Linked DNA regions of Homo sapiens: regions 2, 3 and 4 are each linked to region 1. The links are contacts of gene promoters, found by promoter capture Hi-C in blood cells and fetal thymus (Javierre and others, 2016). All regions are on one chromosome and are shown on one strand. The core of a region is centred on a gene start or on the middle of the fragment in contact, and the rest is flanking DNA. Distances in the headings are between cores, read along the strand shown. Region 1 holds the start of AZIN2 (antizyme inhibitor 2). Region 2 has its middle 18 kb from the start of TMEM54. Region 3 overlaps S100PBP (S100P binding protein). Region 4 overlaps RNF19B (ring finger protein 19B).

Region 1 (3,176 bases), core at 127-2,626:
GGTTTGGGGGCAAGGACAAAGAATTGGGGATAAATTGAGCCCCTCTCTTGCAAATAGCAAGGATTGCGTACCAAATAAGCGAAAGGATAAGATGAGGGCCCTAGGGACCCTTCCTGAGGAGGCAGCTGATCTGTACAGGGGACCGGGGACCCACCCCCATTCCCAGCCCCTCACCGTGGTGGCCTGTGAGGCCCCCAGAGTGAGTTCCTTCAGCAGGTCTCGGGTACTGAAGCCCTCCTCCACCATCACAAAGTCCGATTCACTCAGGTAGCCAGCCATGCCTTGCAGGAGGAGCTGACGGGCTGGATGGAGCCGCTGCTGCAGCCGCCGCCTTAGAAAGTATGCAACACACTGCGGGGCGAGGGGAGATGAAGGGAACCGCTGGGGGGCCGGCTCTGCTGCCCCACTCGCCTCCCGAGGCCAGGGATCCCAATCCCGTCACAACCCGCCCCCAGCACAAGCCCGGGGTTCACTGGGCAAGGGTGGAGAAAGTCAAGAATCCCGGATTTCAGACGGAGACAAGGCACCGTATGCCCAAATGTCACTGCCTCTCCGAGTCAGTTGCTCCCTCTGTAAAATGGATGAATTGTTTTGGAGAGCCTTCCCAGTTCTGAAATTCTGGATTTCAGGAAAGAGTGAGAGAGAGATGGAACAGAAAATCTGAGAAACTTGGGTGGGGAAGTTTCCAGGGCGCCCCCAGTCTTGACCACGCCCACCTAGAGGGTAGCCGGTGGCCACATCAAGGCGTCTCAGCCTAAGAGCAAGAGCTTAAGTTCGAGTCCGCTCTCTACTGCTTGACCTCGGGTACCCTCTGACCCTTTCGGAGCCGCAGTTTCCCCAATTGTAAATGGGGGCTGGACTGATCCTGAGGTGCTAGAATTCTAGGCGTGCCTGGGGACGCCACGCGGTGGGTGGGGGCCGCAAGCTCCTGGGAGAGAACGGAAGGCCGAGGTTTTTTCTGTCCGAGTGACTCCTACAGAGTGCAGGGCTGAGGTCCCCCCAACCCCCAGGGCCCCTTACCAAACTCCGTCCTCCTTCGCGGGGGCCAGAGCCAGGCGCGCTGCTAGGGGGGGTCGCCGGTGACCTCGAAACTTGTGCAACACCCCGAGGAGGAGTGGCAGTTGCGGAGCCGAGGCCTCTGCTGACAGGAGGCAGAAGGGGCAGGGAGGCAGGTCAGCACCAGGGCGGAGGGCGTCCGCTCCCCGAGGCTCCCCAGGCCACTTTCCGCACTCGCCTTAAAACGCATTTACACGGCTTCGGCCCATAGGTCTCCCCAGGGAGTGAATCGGATCCTCGGCGCCTCCGCTCTCTCGCTTCCCCGGGCTCGGGTCCCGCGGCCTGCGCCCCGCCAGCCCAGCAGCCACAGACCCCCACGCCCCGCCTTCCGCCCGCCGCTGGCTTATATAACCCCGCCCAGGCCCCGCCCATAGTGCCGAGGCCCTACCTCCGCTTGGCCGTAGCCCTGGCAACCGGGTGCCGCCATCCCATTGGTCGATTCCGACATAAAGCATTCAGCTCTGCTCGCCCTTACTGTAGTCTTCTCCCCCGGAGGCCTGGCGGTGGCTACCTCACGCTGGAAGTCAGAACTACAGGGCCGCCGCCACGCAGGTGAGACACTTAGACCCTGCATCTTAGGTCTTAGAGAGTGGGCAGGACCAGGAAGCCTTTTCTGCCTCTGCCTCAACTTACTTCGTGGTCCAGCTCTTGTCTGCGTCAGGAACTGCTCACTCATCTCTCGAAACCCGGTTCCAATGACATGTCCTTGTATTACTTTTGTAATAAAATTCTTTTTATTTAATTGCCTCTTCCAGGCATCTTCCCCGACTCCAACTCAAAACGCATCTAAAATGTCTTCAGAGAACCTTTTTGTGACTTTCCCAGTTCAGGGCAATCCCTCCCTTTATCCCATCCTGTGAACCCGGCAAACTCTTACTCATCTCTCAATAGAAATGTGTCTCCTTCTCCAAGAAGCTTTCCCGGACTTCCTCAACTCAAAGCATTTCTTCTATACCGAAAGCTGCTGCTCACCCATCAAAGTCCTGTATAATGTCACCTCTGTTGAACCTTCCATGACTTGCCTGGCCCCAAGGAACACAGCATTTAGTCTGTCTGGACCCCTCACTCATTTGGTTCTTGTTACCCATAGCGTGAGATTCCTGTTGTTATTTTACACTTCTTGTTTGGTTACACTTTGCATCTAGTTTGTGATTTCCCAAGGGCAAGGACTGAATACCCTGCTCAAGAGCCTGGTGCCTGGCATAGACAAGAATGCTGAGGAAGATTCAATAGCTGTGTTACTCAAAAGCTGATATAAAAGTTCATCTGGAAAAGTAAGTGTACAAGAACAGTCAAGACACTCTTTTTGCCCAGGCTGGAGTGCAATGGCACGATCTCAGCTCACTGCAACCTCTGCCTCCTGGGTTCAAGCGATTCTCCTGCCTCAGCCTCCCAAGTAACTGGGATTATAGGCGCATGCCACCACGCACAGCTAATTTTGTATTTTCAGTAGAGATGGGGTTTCACCATATTGGCCAGGGTGGTCTTGAACTCCTGACCTCCAGTAATCTACCCGCCCCGGCCTCCCAAAGTGCTGGGATTATAGGCGTGAGCCACCGCGCCCGGCCAAAACTACAGTCTTTAAAACAGTATGGTGCTGGAGCAGGAAGAGACAGTGGTAAAACAGAACAGGGTCTACAACAGTCCCATATACATTGGAGATTGGTACACAATGGAGGCAGCATTTCAAATCAATGAAGCCAAAGGGCTTTTGGTCTACCATATGTCTTCATGTCCCCTGCTAGGCTGTGGGCTTTTTTTTTTTTTTTTCTCTTTTGAGACAAGATCTGGCTCTGTCACCCAGGCTGGAGTGCAGTGACATGACCTCAGCTCACTGCAACCTCCACCTCCCAGGCTCAAGTGATCCTCCAACCTCGGCCTCCCAAGTAGCTGGGACTACAAGTGCATGCTACCATACCTTGCTGATTTTTGTATTTTTTGTAGAGACAGGGTTTCGCCCTGTTGCCCAGGCTAGTCTCAAACTCCTGAGCTCTAGCAATCTGCCTGCCTCAGCCTCCCAAAGTGCTGGGATTACAGGCGTGAGCCACCATGCCCAGTGGGCTGTAGACTTTTTTTTAAATCAGAGGCACTTCTTGTCCCGCCTTAGTATCTCCCTAGGA
Region 2 (3,098 bases), core at 292-2,791, 160 kb after region 1:
CCTCAGTCGCCTCCTGAGGCCAGTGGACCTGAGCTGACCTGGCTTCATGAAATCACTGTGATCTAGGTCACGTAAGTCCAATGAGGCCAGCCCTGCCAACCTCACTGTAGCTGACTGGACACAGGATTTGGGCCCGAGCCATTTGCTGCCTTGGACAAGCTGGATGTGATGGAGGCCAATGCCTGTGTGAGACTGTCTGGTATGGGAGACATCGATGCTGGGAACATGCCCAGAGGGCATGGGGCCAGAGCACAAGTCTATCCCAGTTCCTGTTCTCCGGGGACTTGCTGGACGCTGCTGAGAGGGCTTCCCCAATAACCTCACTTCCTCTGTGTCCTTATTGTAGCCACCATCACTGAAAGTCCTCTGAGCCTGGCTCTTCCTTGCATACCTAAAGGAGCTCGAGAACATACCCAAACGTGGCCCTTGATTTTTCTGGGAATCACATAGCTAGATCAAAAAAAGAAGTAGCCGGCACAGTGGCTCATGCCTGGGATTACCCAGCATTTTGGGAGGCTGAGGCGGGCCTTGGAGATCAGGAGTTCAAGACCAGCCTGGCCAACATGGTGAAACCCCGCCTCTACTAAAAATACAAAAATTAGCTGGGTTTGGTGGTGCACGCCTGTAATCCCGGCTACTCGGGAGGCTGAGGTAGGAGAATCGCTTGAACCCGGAGGTTGCAGTGAACTGAGATTGAGGCACAGTACTCCAACCTGGGCAACAGAGTGAGACTCTGTCTCAAACAAACAAACAAAAAAGAACGAGTTTCCTTCTCAAAAGGGATGGTCTTCAGAATGAGAAGATATAAAATGCCTGTTCCAAAACAGATGGCTGATAAATATCAGTCTTCTCCTCCCCTTCCTTGCTGTGCGGTTTCAGTCCTCTGAGGCCACATGTGACATCACTCTGAGATGTTACAAGGCTAAAGAACACAACCAAAGCAAACCTGAATTGCCTGGAATTCCAAATGAGTAGAGACTGCTTTCTCCTGGGGTTCCTAAGCTGAGAAGATGTAAGCATGAATCTTCCAGAGAACAGAGACTACCTAATATTGCAACTCACAGAGGAATGTGGAGCTGAGAAATTGAAAAAGAAAGAGAAAGAAACACCATTTGATTACACTAGATGACATCATTTTAATGCCAGGATCTAACCATGCCTAAAGCCCCTGAACGTTTCAGTAACATAATCCAACAAATGTCTTTCCCCTTATCCAAAGCCCATTTCAGTTAGGATTCTGTCATCTGTAACTAAAGAAGTTGACTAATACAGGAAGTGGGATACTCCTAGTGCTGGCCCCTCACACTTGGAGTTGGCTGAGTTGAGGTGGGTTATAGAATGGTGAGGATTTCCCAATCCCAGGCTGGGAGGCGGGTGTACCCTGAGATGCAGCTGCACATCCAGAGTGTCCTGAAACTCAGATCATGCACCCAGCAGAGGTGGGAACTTTAGAGGGCTTCACAGAAATACGTCAATGTGCTGGCTATTTTCCCAAATCTTCAATTCAGAGTCCAGAAATAGACAAATTTTGCAGAGAAAATAATAATAAAAGCTAACATTTGGCCTGGCACGGTGGCTCACACCTGTAATCCCAGCACTTTAGGAGGCGAGGTGGGTGGATCACGAGGTCAGGAGATCAAGACTATCCTGGCCAACATGGTGAAACCCCATCTCTACTAAAAATACAAAAAATTAGCTGGGCGTGGCGGCACGTGCCTGTAGTCCCAGCTACTCAGGAGGCTGAGGTAGGAGAATCGCTTGAACTAGGGAGTCAGAGGTTGCGGTGAGCCGAGATCGCGCCACTGCATTCCAGCAGCCTGGCGACAGAGCAAGACTCCGTCTAAAAAAAAAAAGCTAACATTTATGAGACACTCACTATGTGCCAGACACTATATTAAGACCTTTACACATATTAATTCATTTATTATTTTTCTTTTCTTTTTAAATAAAATGAGATGGGGGTCTCGCTGTGTTGGCCAGGCTGGTCTCAAACTCCTGAGCTCAAGTAATCCTCCCACCTCGGCCTCCCAAAGTGCTGGGATTACAGGCGTGAGCCACCATACCCGGCCCATGTAATCCTTAAAATAACATAAATAAGTGGGTACTATTTTATTTTCCATTTTACATTTGAGGAACTGAAGCACAGAATAATTGCCCAAAGTCTTACAGCTAGATGGCCGTTGAGCTATGAACTTGAATCCAGGCAGCCTGGCCCCTGAGCTTGTGCTCCCACAGCTCTGCTCAGAGAGGCTGCCCATAGCCAACAATCCAAGCTGATTCAGTGTCCGATGATCGTGTGCTTTGCAGGACTGAAAATGCTCATCTTGGCCAGCCACGGTGGCTCATGCTTGTAATCTCAGCACTTTGGGAGGCCAAGGCGGGCAGATCACAAGGTCAGGAGTTTGAGACCAGCCTGGCCAACATGGTGAAACCCAGTATCTACTAAAAATACAAAAATTAGCTGGGCATGATGGCAGTTGCCTGTAATCCCAGCTACTCGAGAGGCTGAGGCAGGAGAATTGCTTGAGCCTGAGAGGTGGAGGTTGTAGTGAGCCGAGATCGTGCCACTGTACTCCAGCCTGGGCGACAGAGGGAGACTCTGTCTCAAAAAAAAAAAAAACAAAAAAACAAAATTGCTCATCTGTTCATGTCAAAGTTAAAGTGAATGGGAGCAAAGGCAGGGAGGCAGGAAACACACCCCTCCCAAGCCCTTCTGACCTGTCCCACTAAGAGGAAAATGACCCTTATGTAAAGAGCCTTCCACACAGTGAGAGCAGCCAGCTGTGCCCCCACCCCCATGCCTGGTGTTCACATTGCTCCAAGGCAGAGGTGAAGACAGAAGCCTTAGGGATCTGAGTACTGGGAGGTTTCCGTTGCTAAGAGAGACATCCTCCCTCTCCCTAGCAAATCAAGATCAAAGTCTAGATTCAGGGACCATAATTTACAATTCTTCTGACTCAGTTATTAGCCCATGGTCTTACCCAAATGCAAATAAGTCAGAAACCTTACATGTCTTTTTATTTTATTTTACTATTATTTTTATTTTAAAAATTTTTTTAGAGACAGGGTCTCACTCTACCACCCAGGCTGGGTGCAGT
Region 3 (3,275 bases), core at 48-2,547, 230 kb after region 1:
AGGCAGAGTTGAGTTAAAATTCCAATCCATCAATTAGCTCTGTGACCCTGGGCAAATTATTTCACTTCTTCAGGGCTCACTACTCATCTATGAAAAGCAGATAATACAATTTAGCTTGAAGCTGAGTTTTAGGAATATTGAACGTAAAAGACCTAGCACATTGCTATGGCACACAGCGTGTGTGCAGTGAGTGGTAGCTATTATGATGTTAGCACCTCAGGTCTATGTTAGCTTGCAAAGACTCTGCAAATCCTGTGAAATTTTAAGGAAAAACGTTTATTAAATGGATCCATCCACACATAAACTATGACATTTTATGGCACTCAAATATTTTTCTAACCATAACACTTTTTAGGAAAAATTTATAGATTTCATTAAAAGTTTCTCTACTGTTAAAAAAGCACGACCAAATGAAACATAATTGACAAAATGAAAAATATATTTGAAACATACTTGGCAAAAGTTTAATGTCCTTTATCTACAGTCTCTTTATTTTTTAAAAAAGGTCAAGGGCATGAATAGACAACTTGCAAAATTATTACAAGTGATCAATAAACATGATAAAAACAATGTTCAATCTCATTCATGGAAAGAAAAGGCATTACTGTCACTCCTTGAGAAGGAAAAATAAATCAGAAATGAGTTTCCTCATGAAGGGAAGTAACTCTTGATTAGAAAATTCCTTACCTGCTGGATTTGTAAAGCTAAAATCAAAGGTCTCAATTCAAATTGCCTTTCCAATACCCCACTTTCACCTCGCTAGCACTCCACTCCCTGTGGTCACCCAAAAAGGACATTTCAGTGGGAGGCAGGGGAGGGGAGAATCAGCTTTATAAAAATTTCAAGATACATTTTTCCTACCAAAGCTTCACAAAGGAGGGCTAGCAATATATGGAAATTCTGTGTCCATCAAAATGGAACCACAAGATTATCTATAGAACATGTCCTTCAGCTCACTCATTTCTTATCACCTGCATTTTAGAAAATTAATCTGGCAATGGAAACTAAAGATAATAAATCTAAAAACATATCTATTCACATTAAATGATGAGAAGAATAGCCAGTTAGCCAAAGGGGCCTAATATTCAAATATTTAACTTCTAGGAATCAAATCCAGCAGCAGCAATTTATATAACATTATATATCAAGCCTGTTTAAATAAATAAATAAAGGCACTGTCCTATGTGCTAGTTTATATATATCAACTCATTTATTCTTTACAACAATCCTATAAGGTATTTTCCCCGCTTTACAGACAAAAGTATATAAAACTGTAAAGAAACCGAGGCACAGAAAAGTTAACTAATTTGCCCAAAGTCACATGTCTAATGACAAAGCCAGAATTCCAACAATATAAAACTATCATAGGATTGACTTTCCTTAAAAAATTTTCTGGGAGCAACATTTCATAGTTGAGATTAGAAAGTAAAAATCATATAGCCATATGTCTCTTGTAAACAATGGCTCAATAATTAGATCTCAGCTCATGTACCAAAAAATTTTAATTTTCCTTAGCACTAATAACTAACTTATTGTTAGACTAGCCTAACTCTTATTATGAATAAGACTTAATGATCTAGAGATAATGGGAGCTAACATTTATCAAGCACTTCTTACGTGCTACGTACTTTGCTAACTGCTTTGCATGTATCCTACAATTTAATTCTAACAATCACAGATGGCAAACTCTATAACCTCCATTTTATTCACAAGTAAACTGAAGCTTAGAAAAAAATACTTTCCCAGCACTTTGGGAGGCCGAGGCAGGCGGATGGCTTGAGCCCAGGAGTTCAAGACCAGCCTGGGCAACATGGTGAAACCCCGTCTCTACAAAAAGTACCCGGGTGTGGTAGTACACACCTGTAGTCCCATCGACTCCAGGGGGCTGAGGTGGGAGGATCACCTGAGCCCATGAGGTGGAGGCTGCAGTGAGCCATGATCATACCACTGCACTCCAACCTGAGTGACAGAGCAAGACACTGTCTCCAAAAAAAAAAGAAAAAAAAAGAAAGAAAAGATACTCATCTATCATCTAGTAAATCAGGAAAGCCAGGATTCAAACCCAGGTGGGGCTAATAATCCAAAAACCTCATTTTAGCTTATAGTTTGAACCTCATCTTCCTCCAAATTTAGAGATGCTAACAAGAATGGGAACATTTGAATTTTCTCTTCTCTTCATAGTCTCTAACAGATGGGCTTTCTTGGACCAACAATCAGTACCATGGGTTTATTTTAAGTTGTGGCAAAAAGGTGGTAAAGACTGTCCTTTGTTTTGTGACTAAGAATGAAATAAAGGAGGGAAAAACCCCCAATATTTCAGGAATGACGTCAACAATTCATCTAAATCTTAATCTATAAATATGAAGGTGACTGGTTTTGGGGAAACATCCAGTTTAATAACTGTTCTTAGTAAGTTTAAAGTGAATCAATTTTTATATCATAATGGAGGAGGACGGATAATGCTGAGTACCTGCTATGCCAATTCTGACAGGTTTTATAGGACATAATACTTTTTACCACCCACATGACCCTAACTCAATCAAGTGTGGCACATGACCAAAGAACAGAGACTCTCTCAGCTGGCTAATGACATAATGACCTAGAAGGCTGCCTGGTACCAGCAGGTCATTAAGTAAACCAATCAGATACTCTTCTTTGAAATGTCAATGTGAGCTTTAGTAATGAGAACAAGAGAGAACAGTACACATGCAGGGCTCTAGGAAAAACAGTTACTTGAGATAGCTAAATAGCAGCAAAAGTACTGGTCACAGAAGCAGATTAGATTAGGGAAAATCCCAATAGGGAACAGAGGCACTCATTTCTTTTTTCTTTATTTTTTTTTGAGACGGAGTTTCGCTCTTTTGCCCAGGCTGGAGTGCAGTGACTCGATATTGGCTCACTGCAAACTCTGCCTTCCGGTTTCAAGCAATTCTCCTGCCTCAGCCTCCCGAGTAGCTGGGATTACAGGTGCCCGCCACCATACTCGGCTAATTTTTGTATTTTTAGTAGAGATGGGGTTTCACCATCTTGGCGAGGCTGGTCTCGAACTCCTGACTTCATGATCCACCCACCTTGGCCTCCCAAAGTGCTGGGATTACAGGTGTGAGCTGCAGCACCTAGTTAGAGGCACACATTTCTGACGGAGCGTGTAGTTCGGCTCTACGGTTAATTCTTTTCACTACGAGACCTGGTGAAAAGTCTCATCTAATCATCTTTTCCTGTAAATCCTTAAACTCAGTTACTTAAAGGCTATCATAATATCTCTATTCCATGCA
Region 4 (3,196 bases), core at 383-2,882, 140 kb after region 1:
TGAAGCCATCCTCCCAACTTGGCTCCCAACGTGCTAGGATTATAGGCATGAACCATTGCCCCCAGCTGGTTTAGTGATACTGCAATCCTTATTACCTTTCTATTTCCATTTGCTAGATAAGGAAAATCAATTCTATGTACTTGTGTTGAAAATATGTAAAGCTTTGTAACTAAAAAGATTGTGACTTGCTTGGTCATTTCACTAGTTAGGCAGACCAGAGTGTATATTTTCAGAGGAGCATAACATGTTGCCTGAGAAGCAGTTGAATGCAACGGAGAAGAAAGGCCTAGGGAGGGGTAAAGGTAGAACAAAGCAGGATAGGAAGGTAGAGGAGATGGTTGCCTTCAGCTATCCAAAGGACCTTCAACTGTGAAAAGGATTAGACTTCTATGCCTCATACCAAAAGGTAGATTAAGATGACTTGGCAGAAGCTAAAGGGAAACTAATTTTGGTTCAGTATAGAGAATATAGGGAAAAGCAACATGAAAGCCCAAAGAGGAAAAAGGCTACTTTAGTAGATACTGAGCTGCCTATCCCTGGAAATGTTTACAATGAGACCAGATGGCTATTTGGCTATAAGAAGGATTCAAGCAACAGATGGCAGGTGGACTGGATCTCCCACCTGAGTGCCTGTCAATCACTTGGGAGCCTCTTAAAAATAGACTTCAGGGACCCATCCCAGAATGAGTAGCTTAGAATTTCCTGGAGTGGCACCTAGGGGGTGATCCGTGTTTTGCAAAAGCTCCCCAGGTAATTCTAGCACAGCCGTTGCATGAACCAGCATCTGACAACCACCTAAGTAGGAGCCCTTTCTGAAAGACTCTTCCAACTCAGAGTGATTCTGTGGCAGACCTGAAACTAGAAGCCAGGTCTCTGACACTGTGCACTTTCCATTGCATTCCCTCATTTCCCTGGGCCTTGGCACATTTTTGAAGGGCACCTGAAGCTGGAGCAGCAAAGCAAAGGCTCAGGCAGTAGGATGGAAGCTGCTTGAATGTGCAGCTGCAGGCTGCTACTGACCCGTCTGTGCATCTCATGACTCTGGTTGTCTCTTATCAGGGGATCCCGCCCCCACATGCTGGCATATTCACTGCTGTGCTTTCTTAAAACCAACACCCCTGTAAATAAGCAGACAGACATAATTGGAGACTGACTTGCTGAAACTGCAGCTTAGCCAGTCCAGCTGTTCTAGTTCTGTGAAAGCCTTTATTTTATAGGAAGTGAATGAGTCAGATGGGTTTGACTGTGAAACCCATTATAAGGAAATACTTAACTGTGCAACAAAGTGATGTTGGAGCCAAGAAAGGCAATAGTTATGGGCTCTGAGACACTATTGGGAAAGTTTGCTGCTCCAAGAGGAGGGAAGAGGTTGGCTCCTGTATGTCCTTCAGTCTCATTCCCTGGAGGTAATTTGATTGTTAAATGTTTGATTTCCTATTATGTGCAAGGCAGGGAAGGTAAAGTGTGTATGAGTTGTGGTCTCTCCTTTTGTGGAGTTAACAGACAAGTGAGAGATGCATAATAATAAGTAGGCAGGGCCTGCGCACGCCTGTAATCCCAGCACCTTTTTTAGGTGGGTGATCACCTGAGGTTTAGAGTTCAAGACCAGCCTGGCCAACATGGTAAAACCCCATCTCTACTAAAAATACAAAAATTAGCTGGGTGTGGTGGTGGGAACCCATAATCCCAGCTACTTGGGAGGCTGAGGCAGGAGAATCGCTTGAACCTGGGAGGCAGAAGTTGCAGTGAGCCAAGATCGTGCCACTGCACTCCAGCCTGGGTGACAGAGTGAGACTCCCTCTAAAAACAAATAATAATAAATAAGTAGGCAGGTGCTGTGGGAGTACTTAGCAAGAAGTGAATGGTTTGCTGGGATAATGAGGGGAAGTGATAGTTCCTTTGTTGTTAAGGACTGAGTATAAGTTTGTCTGGTAGAGAAAGGAAATTTCTAGAGAGACAGAATAGCATGTGCAAAGTCATGGAAGTATAAAATGTATAGGTATTTAAAGAAAGAAAGAATTCAGAGTGACTATGATTTCGGATCTATAGGGAGTGATAGAACTGGACAGAGAGCTTCCTGGCAGATCAGGAAGACCTTAATGCCTGTTGGCAGTAGGGAGCCAAGAGTTAGAGAATTGTTAGAGTGATTGGGTCTTTATTCACACTGGCACTGTTCTAGAGGTTGTTTGACTTGGACTTAAGGGCTACTGGAGAGGGAGCCCAGTTTTAGTCATCCAGGCAGGAGATGATGAAAACCTGAAGTTCAGCAGTAGCTGTGGGGATAGAAAGGAGGGGACGATTTCAATAGATATTTAAGAGAAAAAATGTATGGGCATCTATTTGCGCTGTTTGACAGTTGGAGAAGATCAGACAGACAACCACAATTTGCAAGAGAGTAATGGAAGAGATGTGTGCCAGGAAGCAGACTGTCTTGGAATACCCAGGTCTCATATTAACTTGAACGTCCCCTCTTTACACAGGTTAGAAGTTCAAGCCGATGTCCAAAAGGAAATTTTCCCCAAAGACACAGCCAGTCTTGGTGCAATTAGTGACAACGCAAGCACTCGTGCTATGGCCGGTTCCATAATCAGTTCCTACAACCCACAGGACAGGTATGTGAACAGTCAGATGTCCAGGAGAGGTTGCATTTTTTCGTTGGGTACTAGGTCTTCAGAAGTTCAATGCCTCATGTTAGGGCTGTATGTACCATCTCCTGGGATATATAGTGTAACCTGTGAATTCATTTGAGCAAGTTCTTGGTACTTGAGTGTTTGGCATCTCTTGATTCTTCTTGTTAGCGCTTGATTTTTAGAGATTTCTTTTCTTTCTTCCTTTTATGTATTTTTTCTTTTTTTTTTTTTTTTTTTTGTCTTTCTTGGCTATTGCAACAGTGTATAATTACATGGAACTTAAAGAGCTAGATTGATGTTCATTGATGTCTTCAAGTCTAGGGTTTCTGCTTGCCCTTTGCTTGATAGGATTCCCATAGCTTCTTTCTCTTTCATTTTGAGAAACTGGTGTATCTGGGATGGTGTGATTGTGGTACTCCCACTAGTAGGTATTCTGGCTTCTTCTACTTGTGGCATGGTAGTAAAAAGCTTTTACTTTTCTATTTTGAGTAAGCTAGCATGGGGCTCTGACCCTTAGTTGAATTTTGGAAGCTCTTTCTGTATGTTTAAAGAGATTGGCTGAGATA

What was found. The method cuts DNA at HindIII sites, captures the fragments that hold promoters and counts their contacts. A CHiCAGO score of 5 or more calls a contact.
Region 2: a fragment that was not itself captured here is called in contact with the fragment with the promoter of AZIN2 in region 1 in 5 of 17 cell types (neutrophils, M0 macrophages, erythroblasts and 2 more); the score reaches 8.2 in neutrophils.
Region 3: a fragment that was not itself captured here is called in contact with the fragment with the promoter of AZIN2 in region 1 in 9 of 17 cell types (M0 macrophages, endothelial precursors, M1 macrophages and 6 more); the score reaches 10.7 in M0 macrophages.
Region 4: a contact is called between a fragment that was not itself captured here and the fragment with the promoter of AZIN2 in region 1, in 16 of 17 cell types (total CD8 T cells, naive B cells, activated CD4 T cells and 13 more). The highest score is 13.2, in total CD8 T cells.

Annotation. Positions count from the first base shown.
Region 1 is chr1:33,079,353-33,082,528 of GRCh38, reverse strand. AZIN2 (antizyme inhibitor 2) reads right to left here and starts at 1,376. Exons shown (of 12, transcript NM_052998.4): 1 at 1,235-1,376; 2 at 1,021-1,141; 3 at 717-928; 4 at 175-351. The coding sequence starts at 279. LOC105378635 (a long non-coding RNA gene) reads left to right here and starts at 1,533. Exons shown (of 3, transcript XR_947163.2): 1 at 1,533-1,608; 2 at 2,202-2,330. RefSeq lists a silencer at 1,155-1,414. The HindIII fragment of the contact is 16,354 bases long and covers 1-1,973 here.
Region 2 is chr1:32,918,115-32,921,212 of GRCh38, reverse strand. No RefSeq gene overlaps it. Among named protein-coding and RNA genes, the nearest start is that of TMEM54, 18 kb to the right of the region's middle. The HindIII fragment of the contact is 4,307 bases long and covers 1-3,098 here.
Region 3 is chr1:32,847,874-32,851,148 of GRCh38, reverse strand. All of the region lies in intron 5 of S100PBP (S100P binding protein), which reads right to left. Among named protein-coding and RNA genes, the nearest start is that of FNDC5, 21 kb to the left of the region's middle. The HindIII fragment of the contact is 857 bases long and covers 869-1,725 here.
Region 4 is chr1:32,937,813-32,941,008 of GRCh38, reverse strand. It overlaps RNF19B (ring finger protein 19B), which reads left to right. Exons shown (of 9, transcript NM_001300826.2): 8 at 2,481-2,612. Among named protein-coding and RNA genes, the nearest start is that of RNF19B, 25 kb to the left of the region's middle. The HindIII fragment of the contact is 2,937 bases long and covers 164-3,100 here.